Linked DNA regions of Homo sapiens: all the other regions are linked to region 2. Evidence: promoter capture Hi-C in 16 types of primary human blood cells and fetal thymus (Javierre and others, 2016). All regions are on one chromosome and are shown on one strand. Each heading gives the region's core, a stretch centred on a gene start or on the middle of the fragment in contact. The rest is flanking DNA. Distances are from core to core; before and after follow the strand shown.

Region 1 (2,953 bases), core at 277-2,776, about 11 Mb before region 2:
TTCATCCCTTGTAGGTGAGCTGCTTTCTTGATTCCCTGCCAAGCTTGGGCATAAGGGTCTTGGTCATGGTTGGAATCTCAGATACCTAGCACGCAATCTCCCTAATATGCTACGCATTCATTCCCACCTAAGGTTCCACCACTTTCCTCACCTATTAGGTTCCTGGTAGTCACATAACCGGCAACTCTCCTTTTCTGTCGTTCAGCTAGTTGCCACCTACCTCAACCAAACTCAAAAGCCTCTAACCCCTCTCCACTGTGTGAAGACGGAAGTACCTCAATGGACACAAGTGTTTTTGGTGAAAGGGACTTTTTATTCTGCCCCGGAGCTAGGGAAATCCCAGATCTGTGCCAGAGTTATCAAGGGGGTAGTATATAATCATTCTCTGCATTCTTTTACAGCACTGAGAACAAGTAAAATTCTTACCTTAGTATCTTTACAAATCATTTTACCACACATGTATTGTCGTATGAAATCCCTACAACCACTCCATGCAGGAGTAATTCCCAGTTTACATCCTGAAGCTCTGATAAATTTAGAAACCTGCTTTAAGTCACAGAGCTAATAAGTAATGTGTAGGTGCTATAAACTATGTGCCTTGGGCTCTGCAGCTATGAGGGCGTGGTATTATCACAGTTCCTATCGAAATACCTTGCTGGAGGTCATGTGTGAGTGGCAGTGACCAGACAAATAGAGAAACCTCATATACAGAGGGGAAAAGTCTCCATGTATAGTGCCTGGGATATCTCCATGTTAGTGCTGCTCTTTCTTGGATCTTCACCGCAACGCCACTATCTTGATTTTACTATAAGAAACTGAGGTTTCGAGTGCACTGGTGATTTGCCTACTGCCACAAAACCAGGCTAATGGGCTGGGCGCGGTGGCTCAAGCCTGTAATCCCAGCTCTCTGGGCAAAGGCTGAAGCGGACGGATCACCTGAAGTCAGGAGTTCGAGACCAGCCTGGGCAACATTGGCGAAATCTCGTCTCTAATAAAAATTTAAAAATTAGCTGGGCGTTTGACGCGCGCCTGTAATCCCAGCTACCCGGGAGGCTGAGGCTTGAGAATCGCTTGAACCGAGTGGCGGAGGCTGCAATGAGCCGAGATCGCGCCACTGCACTCCAGCCTGAGCGACAGAGCGAGACTCCTTTTCTACAACAACAACAAAAAACCAGGACAAATCTTGCTGGCTTCCAGTATGGTATTCGTTTCATCTCACCAAACTGGCGTGGCCTGCGCTAGCTTCAGAGTCTCGACAAACTCCAATACAAGTAAGGTACACATTATTTTAGCAGTCTTCCTTGGGGAGGACGTGGGGCAAGCACAAGCGTAGCGTTAGGCCTGAGACTCCACCCCAGCCGTCTCTGAGCCCAGTTCAGCACGCACGCGTCAGGCGGCTTTTTTCCGCCCGGCTCCTTTCCTCCACTCCCTTCCCGCCACTCCCCGCCCTTTTCCCGCCCGGATGTTATTCTAGTTTTGCCGGATGTTGTTGTATGTCCGAGAGACACGTGAGGTTCTGCTACGTCATTACCAGGCACGCGCAGGAAACATGGCGGCGGCGGGTGTTGTGAGCGGGAAGGTAGGTAACGGCCTCCAGGAAGACCTCGGCTTTTCTCTGGGACGGGGATGCTTTTGCTCCCTGGCAGCTGGTTGGGGGAGGGACACGAGGGACTTTCTGTGTCCGGACAACCCGTGGCGTCTGTAGGAGAAGACTGGGTGGTACCAGCTGGTTTCCCGAGAATGCCAGTTCAGCCGCGGAGTTATAGAGCCGGCTACTGCTCCAAGGCCAGCTAGGCCTCGGCGCTCTTCTGCCCCAGAGCAGAGAGGCTTTTATTCGTATTACCTTTACTAAGGGACAGGTGGCTCTCTAGTTCCTTTTTTCCCCCGATTCACTGTTTCTTGACTCTAGTTCTTTATGTCTACTCTTCTGACTCCAGCGTCTTTTCTCTCTTTGAAGCGTTAACCCGACTTGCCTCTGTCTTCTTTGCTACAGTTTGGTGAAGATGTTTATGCTTCCTTCGGGAGGAGCTGAATAGATGCTAGGCAGCTAGCTGTGCGCTTAGAAGAAACGAGTGTATTGGGTCTGTTTTTACCAAGCTGCTGAGTTGGTTGGTGGTTGTGAGCAGCAGGACGTGTTTCCTGAGAGAAATGGAGATTTACACCATCCTGTGCTTGTCTAGGAAGGCGTCCAAATATTTATTTCCTAGGCATTTCAGTAGGAGTATTGGTCATGCTGGTTTACGGAGGTGGTCAGTGACACGCCTAATTTCGTTGGAAACTAGAATTACGTGCGGAGATTTCGTCGAATAGTGCCTATTCGCGTTCCGAGGGCACATCTTATGCATAGTTAGGGCTATCAGCTTTATGATATGCCACCGATAGTATTTCCCAGTGCAGGAGTATTTCATAAACAGCTGGAATCAACTGAAGTGACTCATCGAACACTAATGGTTGTTTACTCATTGCAGATAGCGTCCTCTGTTCCTTGAGTTTCACTCATGTCTCCCTGTTGCTTTCCCTACCCCATTTTGAATTATTTGACAGCGTTTGTGGTTTGGTGTTTGGAGTATTAGACTAGGCGGCTGAATGACAAATATGGGCTTGGTTTTGCTGTTAATCTGAAGTATGACCTTGGAAAATTGGGCAATTGTGACTTTTGTCTTTTCGCGTTCTTTATCTGTAGAATGGAGGAGATGCCAATCATTATTTCTTGTATTGGAGTTGTTAGGGTTATATAAATTTTTTTTTAAAAAAACATAAAATTACACACTTGTACCTACTGGCTCTTTTAAAGGATAGGTGGGCATCCTTTTTTGGATTATTCGTGCTCCTTGGTTGTCTTGTCAGTTTTTTTCTTTTTATATTCAGGGTGGATGCTGATATACTGCTTGACTTACTGCGTATTTGAAGATTATCCTGTTTGATTTTCCATCTAAACTGATCCAGGCTGGGA
Region 2 (3,014 bases), core at 339-2,838:
GAAGCTAAAAATAGAGCCTCCATGAAAATGTTTCCCTAATTAAACCGTGACTTCTAAAATGTGTTAAATAAGAAAAAATACAATTCCTATATAAATTATCCTATAGTACTTTTAAATAATAAAACAACACTTAAAGGATTTCAAATGAAGAAAATACATACTTTACTGTTTTAATACATTGTTCTTCTGGCTGAGGCTGGTCAAAGCTACACTGATCTTCAAATAAAGGCTCGTCAATGCTACACTGTTCTTCAAGCAACGGCTGGTGAACTTGTTCTGACAAAGGATGGTCGACTTTTCTTGCTTGCTTCCTATGTCTTTCCTCTTCAGCTAAATAGAGATGTTTCAGATTATCTGGGTATCGATCTGTGAATTGAGATTCCAGTGACGTTTGAGCCTTCTTTTCCTTCCGTAGCAATTTCTTGTAACTTTGCTGTATTTTCAGTTTTCTTCGAAAAGCAAAGCCTTGTCCTACATTGAGGAATATCATCCAAAATTACTTTCAGAGAAAAGAAGTTGAACGAAGAATGGAGCTGTTAATTACAAATGAAAACTTTTTTTACGTCATCACATTCAGATTCTAGTATTATATTTTGCTTTAAAAAATTATTTCAAGCAACAAATTTAAGCTGATGGATTGCATAGTAAGTTGGCCCTTTGCAAAAAGACCAGGCTAACAGTCATGCGGAAATCCAAGTAAGAATCTCAAAGAAAAACTGACCAGTTCAGACTGTTGCACAACTTGAGTTTACAGCTGTATTCACAAATCAAAACAAATTCCTTAGTTCATCTAAAACACTTAATCTGAGCCTTCAATAAATGCTTAAAAAATAGGAAAGAAAATGCCACATCTAGTATCTTGGACAAACTACATGTTTTCGAAAATGTTTCAACACGAAAGAAAAAGACAGTGTATGGTTGTCTGAAAAGCTAGCAATTATCGGAAGACTGAATTTAACATTTATATATTCCAAGTGGGATCTAAGAGACCTTACAGACAGCAATACAAAATGACAAACACAAATTAAAGCGAAGGCTGGAGGGCCTCGGGTATTTGTAATAAGGAAGAATTCGGAGCAGTGTTTCTGGCCCTGTCCTCCTCTCTATCCTTTACCTTACCACATGCGCAAGAGTTCACAGGGTCATAGACTCTCTCTGCTCAGTTTCTCAGGAAAAATATAGGAAAAAAGTTCTGATGAAATACAGGGTTACGTCAGAAAAGACGTTTAAATAATAGCAACACTGCTCCGTCTTCCTATCTAGAGCTCTGCGAAGCTCACAGCTTTAGCGGGCTCAGGAATGAATTCCCTTGCCCCAAGTAGGACCGGGTCTGGTTCCTAAATCCTTCTTCCAAGCTTCAGCGAATCTTATATCCTAAAACTTAGCAAGCCTGAGGATTTGCAAATGGTTGCCTTCTTACATACCCTCGCGAACGCTCCCCACGAAGGCTTGCGGGTGGTTAGGCCGCCATGTCTTCTGTCTCACATTCTTATTCCTGTACCCGACAGTGGAAACCCCTTCACCACGCGCCTCAATACCACCAGGCCGCCACTTCGCGGACCGCCTCACCGGCGCCATTGCAGCCGACTAACTGCGTCATCAGAAGACCACGACGGACGCCCACAAAATACGTCACCAAGCCGAAGCAATCAATCGCTCAGAAGGAATCCGGCTCGGAGCTCTACTGAGCCTGCCTGTGCTAATTTGGGCCGAGCTGGCGCCTCACGGCCATGTTTGCGCCACCTACAGCCTCGGAGGGTGAGCGTCATGGCGGCTTCTTGCCCTCTCCCGGTGACCCCGGACCTGCCCACGCTGCGTGCCAAGTTGCAGGGACTGCTGCAGTTCCTGAGGGATGCCCTGTCCATTTCCAATGCACATACCGTGGATTTCTACACAGAATCCGTGTGGGAGGAGCTGGTCGACTTGCCACCGGAGACAGTGCTGGCTGCGCTGAGGAAGTCAGCGTCGGAGACGGAGGCCCTGCCCTCAGAGACGCGCCCCCTAGTGGAAGCAGAGTGGGAAGCAGGTGGGTGGTGGGGTAGGCGGGGCGGGAAGGGAGGCGGAGGAGAAGGTCCCGGCAGACGAAGCGAGCCCCCTGGTGGAAGCCAGCAGAACCAGGTGCGTGGCGGCGGAGGCGGGGCGGCCCGCTGGGAAACCGAGGAGGGGTCGGATTAGTTGAGGGGTGGGGTGGGGATGTTCTTTGGAATCAGGATCACTCTTTCTTTGGGTGCTTGTGTATGTCCACAATTTAAAGAAAGCAGGAAACAGGGCAGGGGAGTTCCTTCATCTAGTAATTCCATAATAATTGACGCTAGGGAAACTAGGGGAGCAGTGCTCTCACAGGTTTTATAAATGCCAGCATGTGGTGGAAGATTACTCAACAGTTAATAAAGATAATTTCAAGTGGTGGTAATGAAGTAGAAAATAAAAACAGTGTAATGTGGTAGGGATTGTGTAAGGAGGCTGCCTCAATTTAGGAGGTCAGGAACATGAGAAGGCACTAGCTGCAGAGCCACAGGGAGGGGTTGCAGGCGGTGGGAACCGCAGGCTAGGCTTGGCTCTAGCCAGGTGAGGGGCTGCAGGTGCAGGACGGGAGGCAAGCAGAGGCCAGATGGCACAGGCCTTTCTAGGCCTTGGAAGGATTTTGGATTTTAAGTGTGACGGAAACCCTTGGGATTATTTAGGCAACATAGTGACCTAATTCACATTTGAAAAGATAACTGTGAATTATTTGAAGAATAGACTAGGGCAAAAGCTGAAGCTGAGAGGCCAGTTAGGAGACTACCTCAGTAGTACAACAGATGATTGTATCTTGGACTAGGATGGTATTCGGATAGTCACTATTTCATTTAAAAACTATTTTAAAGTACCTAATATGTGTCTTGAATTTTTGTAGGCTCAAGCTTTTCCTACCCTCAAGAAATGTAGATTCTTCTCAGGCAAGCATATTTTGGAAGTAGAATGATGGACACCAACAGGCTTCTGGGATTTTTACTTTCCTTCTAGACTTCCCA
Region 3 (2,782 bases), core at 224-2,723, about 11 Mb before region 2:
TAGTGGAAATATGAATTAAACTGAGTACAACCTTGATATTAAATAAATTTGAATGAAGTGTTGTAACAAATATTTTGTTTGCTCACATTATATAAAAGTAGCTGGGAACTACGTTTTCCTTCTCAAATTCTTAAAAAGAACACCACCTCTAGGATGGATTACTGATACTTCATAGGGAAAACAATGAGCAGGACATCAAAACAAGCATCCTTTTAAGTGCAGCATCTGTGAAAAGAAAAACAACAAGATATCTTATTTATGACAAGTTACTACGGAAATCAAAGTCACACAAGCAGACTGGATATTTTCTGGTACTTTTTTTTTTTTGCAACATCATATGCCAGTTTACTAATAAAAACATGCAAGCTTACCAATTAATAAAGGTCTATGGTAGAGGCCCAAAATAGTATTGAATAAACACGCAGAAAGAGGACAAAAGCAGAAAGCCCACTCACCTCCCCCTTTTCTAATACAGAATAAAAATTTTAAGAAAAACCTTTGAGCTCCCATAGTACTTTTTTATATACATACTTCAGTTTCAACTTTTTATACTAAACTGCAACTACTTATTTTCATTTGTTTCCCTAATACAAACTACAGGTTTCATCTTTGTACCTTTAAAAAACACATATAAACTGGTGGCTCTCGCCTATAAATCCCAGCACTTTGGGAGTCTAAGGAAGGAGGATCTCTTGAAGCTACAAGTTCAAGATCAGCCTGGGCAACATAGCAAGACTTCGTCTCCCCAAAAAAAAATTTTTTTAAATAAATTTAATAAAAATTTTTTTTAATTAAAAAAATTTAAAAACCATCCACATTGGCTGGGCACGGTGGCTCATGCCTGTAATCCCAGCACTTTGGGAGGCCGAGGTGGGCGGATCACGGAGTCAGGAGATCGAGACCATCCTGGCTAACATGATGAAACCCTGTCTCTACTAAAAATATAAAAAATTAGCCGGGCGTGGTGGCGGGCGCCTGTAGTCCCAGCTACTCGGGAGACTGAGGCCGAATGGCGTGAACCCGGGAGGCGGAGCTTGCAGTGAGCCGAGATCACACCACTGCACTCCAGCCTGGGCGACAGAGCGAGACTCTGTCTCAAAAATAAATAAATAAATAAATAAAAACCATACACATATATATGCTTAAATAGCCTTTCTGGCTTTTGGATTCAAAATAGACCACAAATCCATGGATTAAGAAACACCGTGGGCAGAGGTTTTCTAACCTTCTTGGAAGAACCATTTGCTGGCTTTTAAAAAGTTAAATATCTATATAATTTTCCTTTTTTTTTTTTTTTTGAAACGGAGTCTCGCTTTACCGCCCAGGATGGAGTGCAGTGGTGCAATCTCTGCTCACTACAACTCTGCCTCCCGAGTTCAATCGGTTCTCCTGCCTCAGCCTCCCGGGTAGCTGGAAATACAAGCACCCAACACCACGCCTGGCTAACTTTTTTATTTTTAGTAGAGACAAGGTTTCACCATGTTGGCCAAGCTGGTCTGGAACTCCTGATCTCAAGTGATCCACCGCCTCGGCCTCTCAAAGTGTTGGGATTACAGGCGTGAGCCACCACGCCTGGCGCCTACATGATTTTCTCCGAAACAATCCTGAAATACTCCTAACCCAACTTTTGGTTGCAGAAGTAAGGTTTTTCAGGGAACTAGCATCAGAAGCTGCTGTTTCTCACCTAAATGTACATTCCTTGCCCCTTTTACATCATGACATTTGAGAAAGACCTATTCTGGACCTAAGTGTTCTATAAAAGTAATTCTGATTGTCTTCCAAATAACTGTCATTACTTTTAAGTTTCATATATAATAACGAAATTAAAAATCATCACACTATGTGAATTACAACCAGTAATGAAAGTCTTTAAACAATTTTTGCAATGATCACAGATTAAGTCAAGATAGTGTTTTACAAACCCATTATAAAACAGGAAACCTTCGGATGATTGATTCCTCTGTATAAATGCTGAGTAAACTCAGTAATGTTTAAAACTGAGAATAAGGTTAGAAGTAGGAAAAATCTGGAATGTTACTATTTCCTTTCTCAACTTACCCGTAATCTCCACCCTCGCATACACATTCCTCCACTCTAACGTATTAAAATAAAAATGCTGATAAGTTTATCTTTCTCTCTCTGGCCCTCATTTAGTCAGCACGAAGTTACACAATGTGCAAAAGTGAACACAGATAGAAACGTAAAGGAGGTAAAGTGTTCCAAAAAGATCAAATGAATCAAAAAGCTCTGAAACAGACTTGGTAAAGACACCAGAGTTGTTTTTTTTTTACCCCTCCCCCCCCCACTTTAAAAGGCAGCAACCGGAATAAATCAAGATAAAAACAGAATCACAAAAATAGTGCAGGACTGTGCAGATTAAAACTTTACAATTTTCAACGTCAAACTGCAATATGATAAAGCAACAATATTACTTAAACTGTTTATGAATATTTTTTCTCTAACAATCCAAGTCAACTTCATATAAAACACAAAGTTTCTGTACCAGCAAAAATACAAATGCTAATGAAACTTGGGCTTCTAAGGTATTATTACAAATCAGACTTAACTGTCTTAGATTTCATAAGCTTAACCCAATCCACAGCACGTTAATATACCCAATGAAGCAGTCTTAAGAATAACGCTATAGTGTGACACATGGGGAATTACCAAAGAACAACTTAAAGTATACTGACACAGGGAGAAATAAGCGGTTCTGATGATTCAAAGTTACACTCGTCTCACAGACCTAGTAATGACGCTAAAGGGAACTTTAGTGACACAC
Region 4 (3,063 bases), core at 276-2,775, about 11 Mb before region 2:
CAGCCAAAGGCTAGGTACTTGATATAAAAAGGAATATTACATTATTTTCTGCCCTCAAGTTGCTCTATCTCCTGAAAGAAACAAGTAATATTTATAATACAATATGATAAATGCTACAAAAGAAATAGCTGTAAAGTCCTTTGGTAAATGCTGTTGAATTGGAATTCAGTAAGAACTATAAACTGTAGACCTTTTTATAATCAAATGCTTTTGTCTTGAAACAAAACAGATTCCTCCTTATATTGACTTAGCAAAGGAGGTACAAGGACATTGGCATTTGACCTGAATTATGGTGTTTTATTGAATGAGCTATAAGACAACATTTTTACCCTTTAAAATGAACACTGAACAAATGTGTTAATGGTATCTTTGTTAAAAGGAAAACATAGCTATAAATAAAATACTACATCGAAATCCAGCACTGGAGTTCATTTGAAATTTGATATTTTGTGTAAAATAACAAACCTATTAACACAGATTTTTAAAATAACTCAGAATCGTATAAAGCACTTTGGTACTTATTTGTTCTCTTTTCCCTTACATTCTGTGTGGTAGGTGGTATTATCTCTGATTTACACATGAAGACATCCTTGTTAATGCAATTTATTTATTCATTCGGGCATTTACTGTGTGCCAACTTGCAAAAGGAATAGAAATGTCTGTGATCTAGATAGTTCTAGATTGAACATAGATTTTCTGCCAACAAATCCTCTCTGCTGTTCACATTATCCTTTGTTTAACGTATGAACCAGGTTACTAAAATAGGATAAATCATGTGTCTTAAAATATGAAAATAGTAAAGTCTTTGAGGTCACTTGATCTTCTCTAAGTAGACTTTATAATATTGTGTTTTATCTCATTTCTCAATATTAGAATACGGGTAGATTTTAATTTTGCTATAATATAGGAAATGGTTCATCTTTGTACCAAAATATTGCATTCTTCTGATATTTAGACAGTTGGAAACTTTCTAAAATTGAGGATTTTGTAGTGTATACTAAATAATTGCATATTCAAAAAAATGTATTCTGAGTATGGTGATATTAAACATTTTTCCCCAAGGAAATTACTGTCATGCCTGTTATTTCTAAAAAATGTACATAAATATTTCTGTGAAAGTTCTTTTACATTGACCCCCTGAAAGACTTCTGTGAAGTCCTTCTCCCTAAACTGAAGCAAATGGTAGAACAAAGATAATGTAAAGCCTTGAAGAGAAATTATTTTCATTTTTGTTGCTCACATTATATCTAAATGTACATTATAGTTTATTTGCACTGTTTCAGATAATAGGCAATCTAGACAAGATATATGAACGGCTATGAAAATGGTAACAGTCTATCTCTATCCTGACCATAATTTGAGGCTCACACAAAAATGTATTTGCAGGCTAGGTACAGGAGTTCATGCCTGTAATCCCAGCATGTTGTGGGGCTAAGGCGGGTGGATCACTTAAGGCCAGGAGTTTAAGACCAGCCTGGGCAACTTAGCGAGACACCCATCTCTACAAAAATAATGAAATAAAAATTAGCCAGGCACAGAGGCATGTGGCTGTAGTACCCTAGCTACTCAGGAGGCTGAGGCAGAAGGACTGCTTGAGCCCAGGAGTTCAAGGCTGCAGTGACTCTGATCGCACCACTGCACTTCATCCTGGGCAACAGAGTGCAACCCTGTCTCTTTAAAAAAAAAAAAAAAAAAGCATACATTATCAAAGCACTATCTTACTAACAAAAGGGAAAGATTGTAATATTTTATTAATTTCTTCTGATTAAAATATTGTTTTGGGCTGGGCGCAGTGGCTCACTCCTGTAATCCCAGCACTTTGGGAGGCCAAGGTGGGCGGATCACAAGGTCAGGAGTTCCAGACCAGCCTGGCCAACATAGTGAAACTCCGTCTCTGCTAAAAAAAAAATACAAAAAATAAGCCAGGCGTGATGGTGGGTGCCTGTAATCCCAGCTACTCAGGAGGCTGAGGCAGGAGAATCGCTTGAACCAGGGGAGGCAGAGGTTCGCAGTGAGCCGGAAATTGTGCCATTGCACTTCCAGCCCAGGCAATAGTGTGAGACTGTTTAAAAAAAAAAAAAAAAAAAAAAAAAAAAAAAAAAAAAAAACTTGTTTCGAATACTGTAATTCAAAAAATGCTATCTTTTTTATTTTTATTTTTATTTTTTTTGAGATGGATTTTCGCTCTGGTTGCCCAGGCTGGAGTGCAATGGCGCAATCTCGGCTCACCACAACCTCTACCTCCCGGGTTCAAGTGATTCTCCTGCCTCAGCCTCCTGAGTAGCTGGGATCACAGGCATGTGCCACCATGCCCAGCTAATTTTGTATTTTTAGTAGAGACATGGTTTCTCCATGTTGATCAGGCTGGTCTGGAACTCCCAACCTCAGGTGATCCGCCCGTCTTGGCCTCCCAAAGTGCTGGGATTATAGGCGTGAGCCACCGTACCCAGCCCAAAAAATACTATCTTAACACTCATTAAGAGACACTGATCAAACTAGGATGTGCCAGACAGACATGGTGTCCGTCCTCAAGGTTACTGGAAAACAGTATTCCATTTCTTTATTCCTGCCCTCAATTGCTCCCCACCCTCTCCCTAAGGCCCTTTTAGAATGAGCTCAACCTAATACAACAAATCCATCTTCAAATTGCTCCCTAGTCTTTTAAAATCTATACTACAAACATTTAAAAAACAAAATATTCGGGTTTAATGTCAAGAAGGCATATACTGGTTGGATGCAGTGGCTCACACCTGTAATCCCAACACTTTGGAAGGCCAAGGCAAGAGGATCACTTATAGCCAGGAGTTTGGGACCAGTCTGGACAACACAGTGAGACCTCACCTCTATTTTTATATTAAAAATTTTTTAAAAGAGGTGTCTATTTCTCAGATGAATTTTCAGTTTAATAAATTATTTAGCAAACACTCCAAAATGTGTTATTTCTAACTCTTCTCCATTCTCTTGAACTTCCTATTTTCATGTTCTTTTTAACCACCAAACAAACCTTTACAAATTGCCCTTGTTTAGCTTAGTCACTGAGCAAACTCTTTGTCATCTTTCAAT

Evidence for each region. Contacts are between HindIII fragments. The CHiCAGO score rates a contact against its expected background, and 5 or more counts as called.
Region 1: a contact is called between the fragment with the promoter of TBC1D15 here and the fragment with the promoter of CCDC59 in region 2, in 1 of 17 cell types (total CD4 T cells). The highest score is 5.6, in total CD4 T cells.
Region 3: a contact is called between a fragment that was not itself captured here and the fragment with the promoter of CCDC59 in region 2, in 3 of 17 cell types (total B cells, fetal thymus and total CD4 T cells). The highest score is 7.5, in total B cells.
Region 4: a fragment that was not itself captured here is called in contact with the fragment with the promoter of CCDC59 in region 2 in 1 of 17 cell types (total B cells); the score reaches 7.1 in total B cells.

Annotation. Positions count from the first base shown.
Region 1 is chr12:71,838,233-71,841,185 of GRCh38, forward strand. TBC1D15 (TBC1 domain family member 15) reads left to right here and starts at 1,527. Exons shown (of 17, transcript NM_001146213.3): 1 at 1,527-1,579. The coding sequence starts at 1,550. The HindIII fragment of the contact is 6,842 bases long and covers 42-2,953 here.
Region 2 is chr12:82,356,799-82,359,812 of GRCh38, forward strand. It overlaps CCDC59 (coiled-coil domain containing 59), which reads right to left and starts at 1,589. Exons shown (of 4, transcript NM_014167.5): 1 at 1,425-1,589; 2 at 162-471. The coding sequence starts at 1,578. It overlaps METTL25 (methyltransferase like 25), which reads left to right and starts at 1,731. Exons shown (of 12, transcript NM_032230.3): 1 at 1,731-2,026. The coding sequence starts at 1,768. RefSeq lists enhancers at 1,398-1,958, 1,469-2,028, 1,959-2,519. The HindIII fragment of the contact is 1,548 bases long and covers 1,354-2,901 here.
Region 3 is chr12:71,660,203-71,662,984 of GRCh38, forward strand. All of the region lies in intron 1 of ZFC3H1 (zinc finger C3H1-type containing), which reads right to left. Among named protein-coding and RNA genes, the nearest start is that of ZFC3H1, 2.3 kb to the right of the region's middle. The HindIII fragment of the contact is 2,219 bases long and covers 365-2,583 here.
Region 4 is chr12:71,679,579-71,682,641 of GRCh38, forward strand. THAP2 (THAP domain containing 2) reads left to right here. Exons shown (of 3, transcript NM_031435.4): 3 at 1-1,066. The region is part of intron 1 of LOC124902965 (a long non-coding RNA gene); the gene reads right to left. Among named protein-coding and RNA genes, the nearest start is that of TMEM19, 5.0 kb to the right of the region's middle. The HindIII fragment of the contact is 5,054 bases long and covers 1-3,063 here.